Linked DNA regions of Homo sapiens: region 1 is linked to region 2. Evidence: promoter capture Hi-C in human tissues and cell types (Jung and others, 2019). All regions are on one chromosome and are shown on one strand. Each heading gives the region's core, a stretch centred on a gene start or on the middle of the fragment in contact. The rest is flanking DNA. Distances are from core to core; before and after follow the strand shown.

Region 1 (5,704 bases), core at 2,822-5,321, 140 kb after region 2:
AGTCGCAAATCTCTTTGGAAAGAGCACAATTGACCCTTCATCTGTAATGGTCCTGGTGAATGCCATATATTTCAAAGGACAATGGCAAAATAAATTTCAAGTAAGAGAGACAGTTAAAAGTCCTTTTCAGCTAAGTGAGGTAAGTATTTTATTTTCAGACTCATGACAAATGTTGGAGGATACAATAATCATTTAAGGACAATTTAGAAAGATGTAGTGATTTAGTGAAAATATTGGTCTAGGTTTCTGTTGGTTCTTTTTATTGTATTTTCTACAGATTTTCATTTTTCCTTTATTAAGTGACAATAACTTTTATCACAGAGCACCTAACTGGAGACTTGGGATACTAAGATTCTCTGGCAGAGGAGAAAACCCATTCTTTTCTTAATGCTCTCTTGGCTTATTCTTTCCATATATACTGTGGTTATGTTCTCCAGCAGCACACTAAGGCTATCTGTGTTATTTTTTTTTCTAGAGAGTTTCTTGAGGAAAGATTAAAAAGAAAATGATTTAATGATATATCCTTTTTCTTCCCACTAAAATCATGTTAGCTAAAAATCCTGACTTTGTTTTTGGTAGACCAAGCTATCTCTATATATTATTAGAACAATTCAGTCTCTAACCATGACTTATTTTAAATTAAAAAAATGGATAACCTTTGCAAAGGGAAGTAATAAGGAATCTACTTTGTAGTTTCTATTTTACCCATGCCTTTAGAGTGTTCATGCAGATATCCGTGTTATGCAAGGTAATCAGTACACACACATGTGCACTCACATATGTAAGTATACTATAATCTTTTTCTTCTTAACAGGGTAAAAATGTAACTGTGGAAATGATGTATCAAATTGGAACATTTAAACTGGCCTTTGTAAAGGAGCCGCAGATGCAAGTTCTTGAGCTGCCCTACGTTAACAACAAATTAAGCATGATTATTCTGCTTCCAGTAGGCATAGCTAATCTGAAACAGGTAAAATTATAAGAATGCTATAATGCAGTTAAAGCATGTGTGCATGTTAACACACACACACACAGACACACTGTGTATCTCATGACATTAGCGTAGTCATTGATTCACAATCTAAGCCTTAGTAGGATTGTCCCGGGGGTGTGAAAGTAGCAGGGAGACACATGGCCTCTGCCTTTCAGGACAGTGTGTTTATGGAGAACAAGCTATTCTTACATGAGAAAGGCACATGGAAGCAGAAGTGATATTTTGTACAAATACACACAAGTACTGGTTGGTTGATAGTCGGGGGACATCTTTCTATAGTAATGAAGTTATAATGCTATTTGGGCTCCTAGTGTGCAGAAATCTGATTAAGCCATTTTACTCTGGGGGCAGTATTTCTGAGCCAATTGTACTTTCACAGGCTAACCATTTTTAACATCTCAGTTTTGTGGAGAAATGGGCACCACACACATTAAGAAGTGGTCATGGCCGTGAAAGGAGTTTGGATCCAACCCCCTTTCCCCAGCTGCAGCCAAAGCTGCCCAGCATAGAGCAGGCTGTGCTTCTAACAGCTGGACGTCTGGAAGCCTGCAGAAGCTGACACACATATGGGTGATATAGCCTAACAGTTAGGGGCTTCTAAGCCAGGGAGTGCTGGCTTGAGATGAAAACACTGTGGCACAGGTGAGCAAGGTGTGTGTGTGTGTTGGGTGGTAGGGAAGGAACACTGTGGCACAGGTGAGCAAAGTGTGTGTGTGTCGGGTGGTAGGGAAGGCTTCTTGAAAGAGCAGGGTCAGGACGTACGCATTTGGATTAAGAAGTGAGACGGGTGCCAACTGAAAAGGAGCTGTAGTCACAGAAGTGCAGCGGTGGCCATAACAGGTATGCTTACGGTTGTGGTTAAGTCAGAGGGAATCAGGTCCCTAAGGGCCTGTGGTTGACTGGAGTGAAAGACATTTGGAGGCATAATGCAGTTTGGGAGCAGTTTAGATTCTGCAGAAAGTTTTCTGGAAGTAGACTATGGGATTAGAATGAATGGGTCAGAAAGGAATTCCTAGTACAGCAATTTCAGTCCGAGCCTTGCTGGATGAATAGGAGAATCACAGGGGCCCTGCTAAACTGAGCAGAGCAAAGAGCAGTGCAAATGCCTTAGAAGCAAGGCAGCATGAGCTGTGGCATGAAGTCATAGTCTCTTGGATGTGGGCAGAAAATGACAAAAGGAAAAGATACTTTGGAAGAAAAACCACCTTTGCTTTTTGGTGGCTTTTATATTGTCATGGTAGGCAGTAGTTGTCAAAACTGTTTTAAATTCTCAGATTAAAAAGATGGGATGTGACACAGCATGGTGGTTTGCAGCTGTGGACAGGGCTGGCTGGAGAGTTCAATGCCCGAGGGAGGCGTTTGAAAGGTTTACAAACAAATGATGAAACTGGATGGAGAATGAGAAGTCAGTGTGCTGAGGCTGCTTTGGGAAAGCTGAGCATTGATGTGGGAGCTGACATGCTGGGCAGAGGCACAGGTGGCCCAGAGTTCAGCTTCAGGAGCAGCTACCAGAAACAGTGACAGAGAAGGGCACGAGAGGATGAAAGCTATCAGAGTGCATGGGGATCCTGGCATCAGGGATGCCAAACAAGAATCACGCTCATAAAGGAGGGTATCATGAAATGTTTCAGATATGAGAACCCAGAAGAAATGGTTGAGTCCATCCACGAAACAGGACCATGACAACTTCACAGGCGAGAGTGGGAGAAGTGCAGTGAAGCATGTATGCTGAGGGAATTGAGGGAAAAGACTGTAGGATACCTACTTGAGAAGCTTAATTATGAAATTTAGATGAGAAACAGACAACAGAAAAGGGAAAATGTGGCTAATGGTATGATTTTGTTCCCAGGTAAGTAGACTGTATTAAAGGTAGAAAAAGTGATGAAGTTGAACCACTCACACTGAGAATTATAAAAACATATGATATTTAATGTAGAGGTCGTGTGTTTGACTCATGTGGGCTTGTCTGTGTTTTGTCTCTTAGATAGAAAAGCAGCTGAATTCGGGGACGTTTCATGAGTGGACAAGCTCTTCTAACATGATGGAAAGAGAAGTTGAAGTACACCTCCCCCGATTCAAACTTGAAACTAAGTATGAGCTAAATTCCCTGTTAAAATCTCTAGGGGTGACAGATCTCTTCAACCAGGTCAAAGCTGATCTTTCTGGAATGTCACCAACCAAGGGCCTATATTTATCAAAAGCCATCCACAAGTCATACCTGGATGTCAGCGAAGAGGGCACGGAGGCAGCAGCAGCCACTGGGGACAGCATCGCTGTAAAAAGCCTACCAATGAGAGCTCAGTTCAAGGCGAACCACCCCTTCCTTTTCTTTATAAGGCACACTCATACCAACACGATCCTATTCTGTGGCAAGCTTGCCTCTCCCTAATCAGATGGGGTTGAGCAAGGCTCAGAGTTGCAGATGAGGTGCAGAGACAATCCTGTGACTTTCCCACGGCCAAAAAGCTGTTCACACCTCACACACCTCTGTGCCTCAGTTTGCTCATCTGCAAAATAGGTCTAGGATTTCTTCCAACCATTTCATGAGTTGTGAAGCTAAGGCTTTGTTAATCATGGAAAAAGGTAGATTTATGCAGAAAGCCTTTCTGGCTTTCTTATCTGTGGTGTCTCATTTGAGTGCTGTCCAGTGACATGATCAAGTCAATGAGTAAAATTTTAAGGGATTAGATTTTCTTGACTTGTATGTATCTGTGAGATCTTGAATAAGTGACCTGACATCTCTGCTTAAAGAAAACCAGCTGAAGGGCTTCAACTTTGCTTGGATTTTTAAATATTTTCCTTGCATATGTAAATAGAATGTGGTGAGTTTTAGTTCAAAATTCTCTGTTGAGAATAATAAATGCATGAAATACCTTAAAGCTCTGTGAAGACTTGTAACATGGCAGCAATCAAATGGCTTATAAAAGGATACTTTGAATGTGGATAAATTGAATTCAGTCAATATTTCAGTGGAATTTTTGGCTAATTGCTTGAATTGAATTGAATTATACTACTCAATTGAATAATATTTTCTCCTCCTCCTTCTCCCCTTCCTTCTTCCTTCTCTTCCTCCTCCTCCTCTTCTTCTTCTTCTTCCCCTTCTCCTCCTCTTCCTCCTCCTCCCCCTTCTTCTACTTCCTTCTCTTCCTCCTCCTCCTCTTCTTCTTCTTCCTCTTCTCCTCCTCTTCCTCCTCCTCCCTCTTCCTCTTCTTCTTCTTCTTCTCCTCCTCCTTCTTCTTCTCCCCTTCCTCCTCCTCCTCCTCTGTCCTCTTCTTCTTCCTCTTCTTTTTCTTCTTCCTCTTCTCCCCAATCCTCCTCATCCTTCTGCTCCTCCTTCTCTCCCTCCTTCTCCTACCCATCTTATTCTTCAGCAAGTAAAGGTTCAAAACAGAAAAAGGCATAAGTCAATCAGAAGATTTTTGTTTTAAAGGAAGCCTCCTTTTATACTCAGGATAACATGGAGCAGTAATCAGATAAGAGTGGCTATTAAACATTTACTGCCTTCTCAGTGCCTTCTTTGTGAATATTTTCTCCTGGAACTTCCTCAGAAGTCTGAGTAGAGCAGGAGTCCCCCACTTCTACCTTCCCTAGCCCCATCTTAGAAGAGGTGGCTGGAGGTCAGCCATTGCTTCCCTCCTAGGTGACAGGGCAACATTCTTTTAGGATAGACAGCGGTGGCAGCTAATGAAATCTTTTCCTTTCTCCTTGGGGCATTGAAGAATGTGGCTTACTTTAATCTTCAATAAAAATATTATAAAATTGCAAGCAAGCAACAATCTCAGCAAAGTGTAAGACTGAAGAGTACCTACTTATAATAGCATGCAACTTCCTTGCTGCACTGAATGGCTGTCTTGTTGCACGTGGTTGTCCCAGTGATTGTCTACCAGGCCCATTCGTCACATGGCATAAAGACAAGAAGCTGTCTTGGCCAACATCACAGGATAACCCAAGACTCCACAGGCACAGTGGGTTTAACTGTGGTAACATGGAGAGACATGAAGCAACAATGATGGGTGTAGGAAAAGTAAGAATGGTTTTTGATATCTACTTTTCACCCTAAACATCTTGAGGATGTCACCTGGAAGTGTGGGGGTCCTCCGTTTCTGTCTTTTTTGAGAGAAAGAATTTGGCCAAGAGACAATTTAGCTAAGAGACCAGAGAGTTTATTGAATGAGAGTACACGCTAAGAGAGATGTGGGTTGTCCTGACTGGAAAACAGCCCATATAGTCCTGTGTTGTGGTTTTTATTATGTCAGACTTTTTCTTAAAGTTCCCACTATATGTATGTTCACCATTGTCAATTATAAAACATATATATATATCTTTATATAATCTATATCTATATATCTTCATATATCTCTCTATCTATCTATCTATCTATCTATCTATCTATCTATCTATCTCCATATATTAGGGGTGGGGAGAGGCAGAGAGAGAGAGAGAGAGTTTAATTAAAGGAAATGGCTCATGCAATTGTGGAGGTTGGCAAGTGCAAAATCTGCAGGGCAGTCTTGATACCCAGGGAAGAATTGATCCTGCAGCTTGAGTCTGAAGGCAGTCTGGAGGCAGAGTGCCCTCTTCCTCAAGAGACCTTAATCTATCTTCTCTTAAGGCCTTCAACTGATTGCATGAGGTCTACCCACACTATGGAGGTAATCTGCTTTACTCAAAGTGTACTGATTTAAATGTTAATTTTATCAAAAATTGCCT
Region 2 (5,723 bases), core at 374-2,873:
AGAGAATAAGGATGAGAATCTGTCACCAGATGGAGGTGCTTGAGTGTTAAACAAGAGCAGTTCCTGGTGTGAGTGGGCCACTATAAAAGAGGGAAGGTGAAGGTCCGAGAAGTGAGAGGCGCTGGCAACAGGAATGGTGAAGTGGTACAGGGTGGCGGTAGCAGCTGGGGTGGACAGGAAGACCATATGCAGAGTCACGGAGGGACCTGTGGTTGGGGACAGAGCAGCACAGCGTGATGGTCTAAGTTTCCAAAGGGGAGCATTGAAGGTGACTGAAGGAAGAAAGACTTGGAAGAAGAGGGAGTGCGAGGGAGAATAGGAATGGTGACTTTGCTTTCCCAAGATATGAGTGGCCGTTCCCAGAAAAGACTATGGGATGTAGTAGTCCTCAGGACATGCCAGGTTTCCCGGTGAAAGCAGGTGGTAGAGCAAAAGCTTTAGCAAAAAGCAGAAGGCCTGTGGAAATGGCTGGGCAATAGAACAGGAAGTCTAGGGGCCACAGAGAAAGAAATAAGAAGATATAAATGGATAGGGATATTAAAACATAAAGCATTATGGCCGACTCAGAGATTTTATGCCATTTTAAAAAACTAACATTTCCATTTCACTGGCATCCAGGGTTCACTAAGTGTTAATTCTTTCTAAACCTTACTCAATTTGCAAGATTCTCAGTGCCTATTAAAAAGCAAATCAACTAAATGTGGCTTTGAGTTTGCTTAAAGAGCAGCAATCAAAATATTTTGAAAAAAGTAAATTGTGAGTATGGAGATTGGAACACACATGACCCATATGCCCTTCGAGCCTGCGTATCTAGGGAGGTGTTCCTCTAGGCAGAAGGAAGAGCTAAGACACCCTTCTAGGAGCTGCTGCCCAGCAACGATGGCAAATCTCCACGCCCTTTACTGAAGATTAAAGCTAAGACTAATCCAAGCACAGTTTCTTTTAATGAACTGGTAGGGCCAGTAGAAATGCTCCAGGGTTGGCAGGAAAAACTGGAATCTGGGGGTGTAATTTCCTATTGAGTTTTTTTGGTAGTGTTGTTTTCCTGAAATCAGTGAGGATATTGAGTGCTTATGAATTATTGGCATTAGACACAGTACCTGGTACATAATAGACTTGATAAATGTTTATTGAATGAATTAAAATGAGATATTTTACAATTAATGGATGGAATACTTGAGAATAATAGGTGTGTGTGTGTATGTGTGTGTGCGTGTGTGTGTGTGCGCATGCTCGCTTGTGTGTGGCTGCCTACCCAAACTTTTCTTGTTCTTTTTTCTTGTTCCTTTGTAGCAAGATAGTTTTCTTTCATTTTCTTCCTGGCATTTGGCACTCCTAAATAATGCAAATGCAAAAATAACTCTGTTACAGAGAATGACTTGTCAGGACACAGCTCTGTCCATCTGTGGTAAGTAAAGTATGCATTTAATGTATGTGTTCATCAGGCTATACACCTTTGGTTCCCAGCGTTGGCTGTACATTGTAATCACCTGCGGTGATAAAAATTCTGATGCCTGGTTTCCACTCGAGAGATGCTGACTCAGTTGGTCTGGGGTGGGGCTTGGGCATAGATTTTTTTTAAAGTTCCAAGGAGATTTTAAGGTGCACGCAAGGTGGAAAACCACTGCTGAAGCAGATGTGGAGAACTATAAATTAAGGATCCCAGCTACTTAATTGACTTATGCTTCCTAGTTCGTTGCCCAGCCACCACCGTCTCTCCAAAAACCCGAGGTAAGTTCTTATTTTGGCTCCAATTTAAGACCTCTGTATTTTGAGAACAATGATGTTTGTTGTTTGAAAGAATTACTTTTATTTTGCATAGACTTTCTGGAGGTAGTTTTATTTAATTCAGTTCCAACATGGCCATGACAATGTATCTTCTTTGACAGTAAATTAATCCATTTTATTTCTGAGTTAACCTGTAAAGGATCTCTGCAAGGAAACCTGAGGTTGAAATGAAAGCTTTGATATCAGATGTGGGATGCCTTAGCGGGGATGAGCCCTTGAGGGCAAAAGGCCCCAAAGTATGTGGGCTTTAAAAAACTTTATTTTTCATTAATCTTATTCTTGTTTTAGGATTCCTCCTAAAGCCTTTACTTACTAGTTTTAAAGTAGTTGGTAATGAAGCAAACATAAAAACAGTTCTACCTATTTATTTTTGGCAAATATTAATTGCTCTTTAAAAACTATTTTTGTGAAATGACAAAAGTAATGCAAGCTCATGTACAAGCCTAAAACAATACAGAAAAGTATAAAAAAGAAAACCCTTTCATCTCCACCTAATAATTCATGACCAGAGATATGTGGTTTCTGCTTCAGAAAAATTCAGCCCAGAGTCAAGTTTGTATGCAGTTAGGGAAAGGGGTTTAAGAGATTTAATCAATCCTGTCACTCTCTGGGCTGAATTTTGAATCAATTGAGAAATAGTATCAGATAAGGATTCAAGTCTCGGCTTAATTATTGCTAAGGTTGGATCTGAGAGCACTGTTTGAACTTGAGGCCCGTGGAGATTCTTGTGCCTACCCCCCTGCCTTATCATGGGCCCCACATCTGGACAAACTGGTGTCGCCTGGACAAGGGCTGGGTCTACCTGGGGAAGCTTCCATGAAGAGGAGGCTGTGGAGAGGCAGAGACAGGCAGGGTCAGACAGAGAGCAAGAGAATAAAGCCATTAAAACATTAACCCTGCTCCGCGGGGAAATAAGAACTGAGCACCACCGGATGACGGAAGACTCCAGTAGATTGATGGATGTCTCCCAGCAAGAGAAGGCCAAGAGAGGACGTGAGAAGCAGGCAGCAGCGACCTTTCACCAAAAGGGTGGAAATCCCTGTATTCCGGATCGATGCAAGAAGAGGAATAGAAGCAGAAAGGATTCCCCTGACACAGAGTAATTCAAATGTTCAGTTTTGATTGTTGTTCTTGCTATTCTAGGTCTCGCTAAAATCATCATGGATTCACTTGGCGCCGTCAGCACTCGACTTGGGTTTGATCTTTTCAAAGAGCTGAAGAAAACAAATGATGGCAACATCTTCTTTTCCCCTGTGGGCATCTTGACTGCAATTGGCATGGTCCTCCTGGGGACCCGAGGAGCCACCGCTTCCCAGTTGGAGGAGGTTGGGCGCAGTCAGGGGGCTTCCTTGTTTCCTATGCACAAATTCATTTGGCGGGGGGGTTGTCAGCCCTCTTGCATTATCTTAAAAATACGCTCTTCTTGACCTGTGGACCAGGAAACAGAGACTTTCAAGACAAGGAGCAATTTCAGGTCTATCAGGAAAGCCCTCTTCCTTTTCCAAATACCATCTCGCCACCTGCTCCCAGATGCTTGAAATTTTTTTGAGTAGAGACTGGTTGCGTAACCTTGTCCAAGTACTTATGGAAAAAGTGACATAATCCCCACAAGGGTAAAAATGACACATCCAAGATGAACACAGGAACACATAAGCCAATACGAGTTCCTTAGAAAAAAATTAGAGGTATTTTTAGTAAAGAAGGGGATTCACCATGTTGGCCAGGCTAGTCTTGAACTCCTGACCTCAGGTGATCCACACGCCTTGGCCTCCCAAAGTGCTGGGATTACAGGCATGAGCTTAGCTGGGTGTGGTGGCAGGTGCTTATAATCCCAGCTACTCGGAAGGCTGAGGCAGAAGAATCGCTTGAATCCAGGAACAGAGGTTTCAGTGAGCCAAGATCATGCCACTTCACTCCAACCTGGCCAAAAGAGCAAAACTCCATCACACACACACACACACACACACACACACACACACACACGAAAAATCAGAGGTAAACGCAGACCTTTTTCTGATTTTGCAAGGAGATAATGTCACCTCATATACCACCGAGGTTTCTTTCAGAAGCGTCCACTCTCCCCTGACTGATTCTGTGTGAGGTTTTCTCTTCTCTGAGCACCACAGTAATATTTTCTATCTCTTCCAGGTGTTTCACTCTGAAAAAGAGACGAAGAGCTCAAGAATAAAGGCTGAAGAAAAAGAGGTGGTAAGAATAAAGGCTGAAGGAAAAGAGGTGGGGAGATGTGTTTTACAAACTTCAGTAGAGTTGCATTTTAGGTGTGGGGTCTCTGGGGAAAAGGACTGAGAAAGGCATGAAAGCAATATTGTTGCTTTACTATTAAGCAATAATAATCACCATAGACAAATATTGTTGTAAGGATTATACAATAATAATAACCCCTTAATATTGAGAAGAGACCTTAGGTGTAATGGACAATACCGCTATGATAGAACTGGTAAAGGCTAATAGACAGAAAAGTTCCCATAGCAGAGTGGATGGGTTTTGGAGTTAAACAGACTTAGGTCCAAGTCCTGGCTCAGTCACTTAAGAGCGATGCTACTTTGGGCAAGTTATTTATCTTCTTTCAGCCTCTGTAAAGTCCGCAGTAGGGGCATCTGGCAACTGAGCCAGTGGTGGTGGTGGTAGTAGCAGTAGGTGATATTATTGCTAAACTCCACTCATATTTTTAACCCCGTGCTGATGTTGTATTTAAAAAATTATTACAGGCCCAATGACTTCCTGAGGTCTTTTCCAGCTCCAGTGTTCCTGTATTCGCCATCCAAAGGAGAGTCTACTCAAATATGGGAAAGGAATAAGCCCATTAGGTCGGGGCTAGGATCAGACGTTAGCACTCTCAGGAAGGGCACAGCTGCTCTGACAGTAGTCATAGTGCAATTCCAGACCCTCATAAAACCATGGCTCAGATCACCCAGCAATAGGAGCTGCTCATTTCACAACCCCAAAAGGCTAGGTCGTGTGGGTGGCTCAGTTGCTCCTGTGGAGGGTCAGGCTTCCTTTCAGGGTTTGCGCAACCAAGTTGGGTCATATGGCCACTGCAATGTTCCCTCAACTGAGAAGTGCAGTTGTCTTCAGAGCACATTCTTTCTCAGCCATGATAGCCCATGTAGAACCTTTGTGCAAATTAGAAAACAGCTCATTCTTTTGGATAGCTGCCCTACTCCTATGTGAAGGGCTAGATGACTGGGGTGGAAACTGAATTTCAGCTTTGTGTAAGGCAAAGCTTACACATACATGCTGTCTAGCAGTTTTGCCCATTCCCCAGAATTTTCCTGGGAGCCACAGGGGTATGAAGAGAATAGAATTACTGACTGAAAGGATATTAGCACTGGAATACATCTTAGAGGTCATCTACTCCAATCTCCTCATTTAATAGTTTGCCCAGAGACTGGCTTGGCATGTACCCGTTTGATTATTATGTAAATTCAGAGTATTTTGAATCTTGCTTTTAAAAAATGCTGATAAAATCTCAAGACATATGTACAAAAGGTATAAGGAAAAATGCAATAAACACACTTTAACCCCTCCTTTAAGTGTACAAAATAAACTATTACCAAATCAGCTGATGCCCCTTAGGCTGATGTATAACACCTTCCTTGAGCACGCCCCCATCCTCTCCTCAGAGAGGAAGTCCCACTATTGTGGATTAGGTGTTCATTATTCCCACGTATTTATTATTTCATTACATGCCATATATTTTTGTCATTCTTCTTTGGAACTTGATTATTTTTGGCTTAGCATCATGTTTATAAGATTCATCTATTTTAAGGGGATACTTATAGCTCTATTTGATTCATTTTTATAGCTATTTCCTCATTTATTTTGTTGATGGGGCCGGCCTTCCTTCCTTCCTTCCTTCCCTCCTTCCTTCCTTTTTTCTTTCCTTCCTTCCTTCCTTCCTTCCCTCCTTCCTT

The links. The method cuts DNA at HindIII sites, captures the fragments that hold promoters and counts their contacts. A contact is called where the count stands out against the background at its distance.
Region 1: a contact is called between a fragment that was not itself captured here and the fragment with the promoter of SERPINB13 in region 2, in 2 of the 25 tissues and cell types used here (H1 embryonic stem cells and spleen).

What each region holds. Positions count from the first base shown.
Region 1 is chr18:63,720,017-63,725,720 of GRCh38, forward strand. It overlaps SERPINB11 (serpin family B member 11), which reads left to right. Exons shown (of 8, transcript NM_001370475.1): 6 at 1-139; 7 at 815-970; 8 at 2,979-3,877. The coding sequence ends at 3,383. It overlaps LOC124904318 (a long non-coding RNA gene), which reads right to left. Exons shown (of 3, transcript XR_007066401.1): 3 at 4,894-4,969. Among named protein-coding and RNA genes, the nearest start is that of SERPINB11, 20 kb to the left of the region's middle. The HindIII fragment of the contact is 6,033 bases long and covers 1,056-5,704 here.
Region 2 is chr18:63,585,720-63,591,442 of GRCh38, forward strand. SERPINB13 (serpin family B member 13) reads left to right here and starts at 1,624. Exons shown (of 8, transcript NM_012397.4): 1 at 1,624-1,731; 2 at 2,932-3,113; 3 at 3,937-3,996. The coding sequence starts at 2,949. RefSeq lists an enhancer at 2,910-4,109. The HindIII fragment of the contact is 3,313 bases long and covers 1-2,280 here.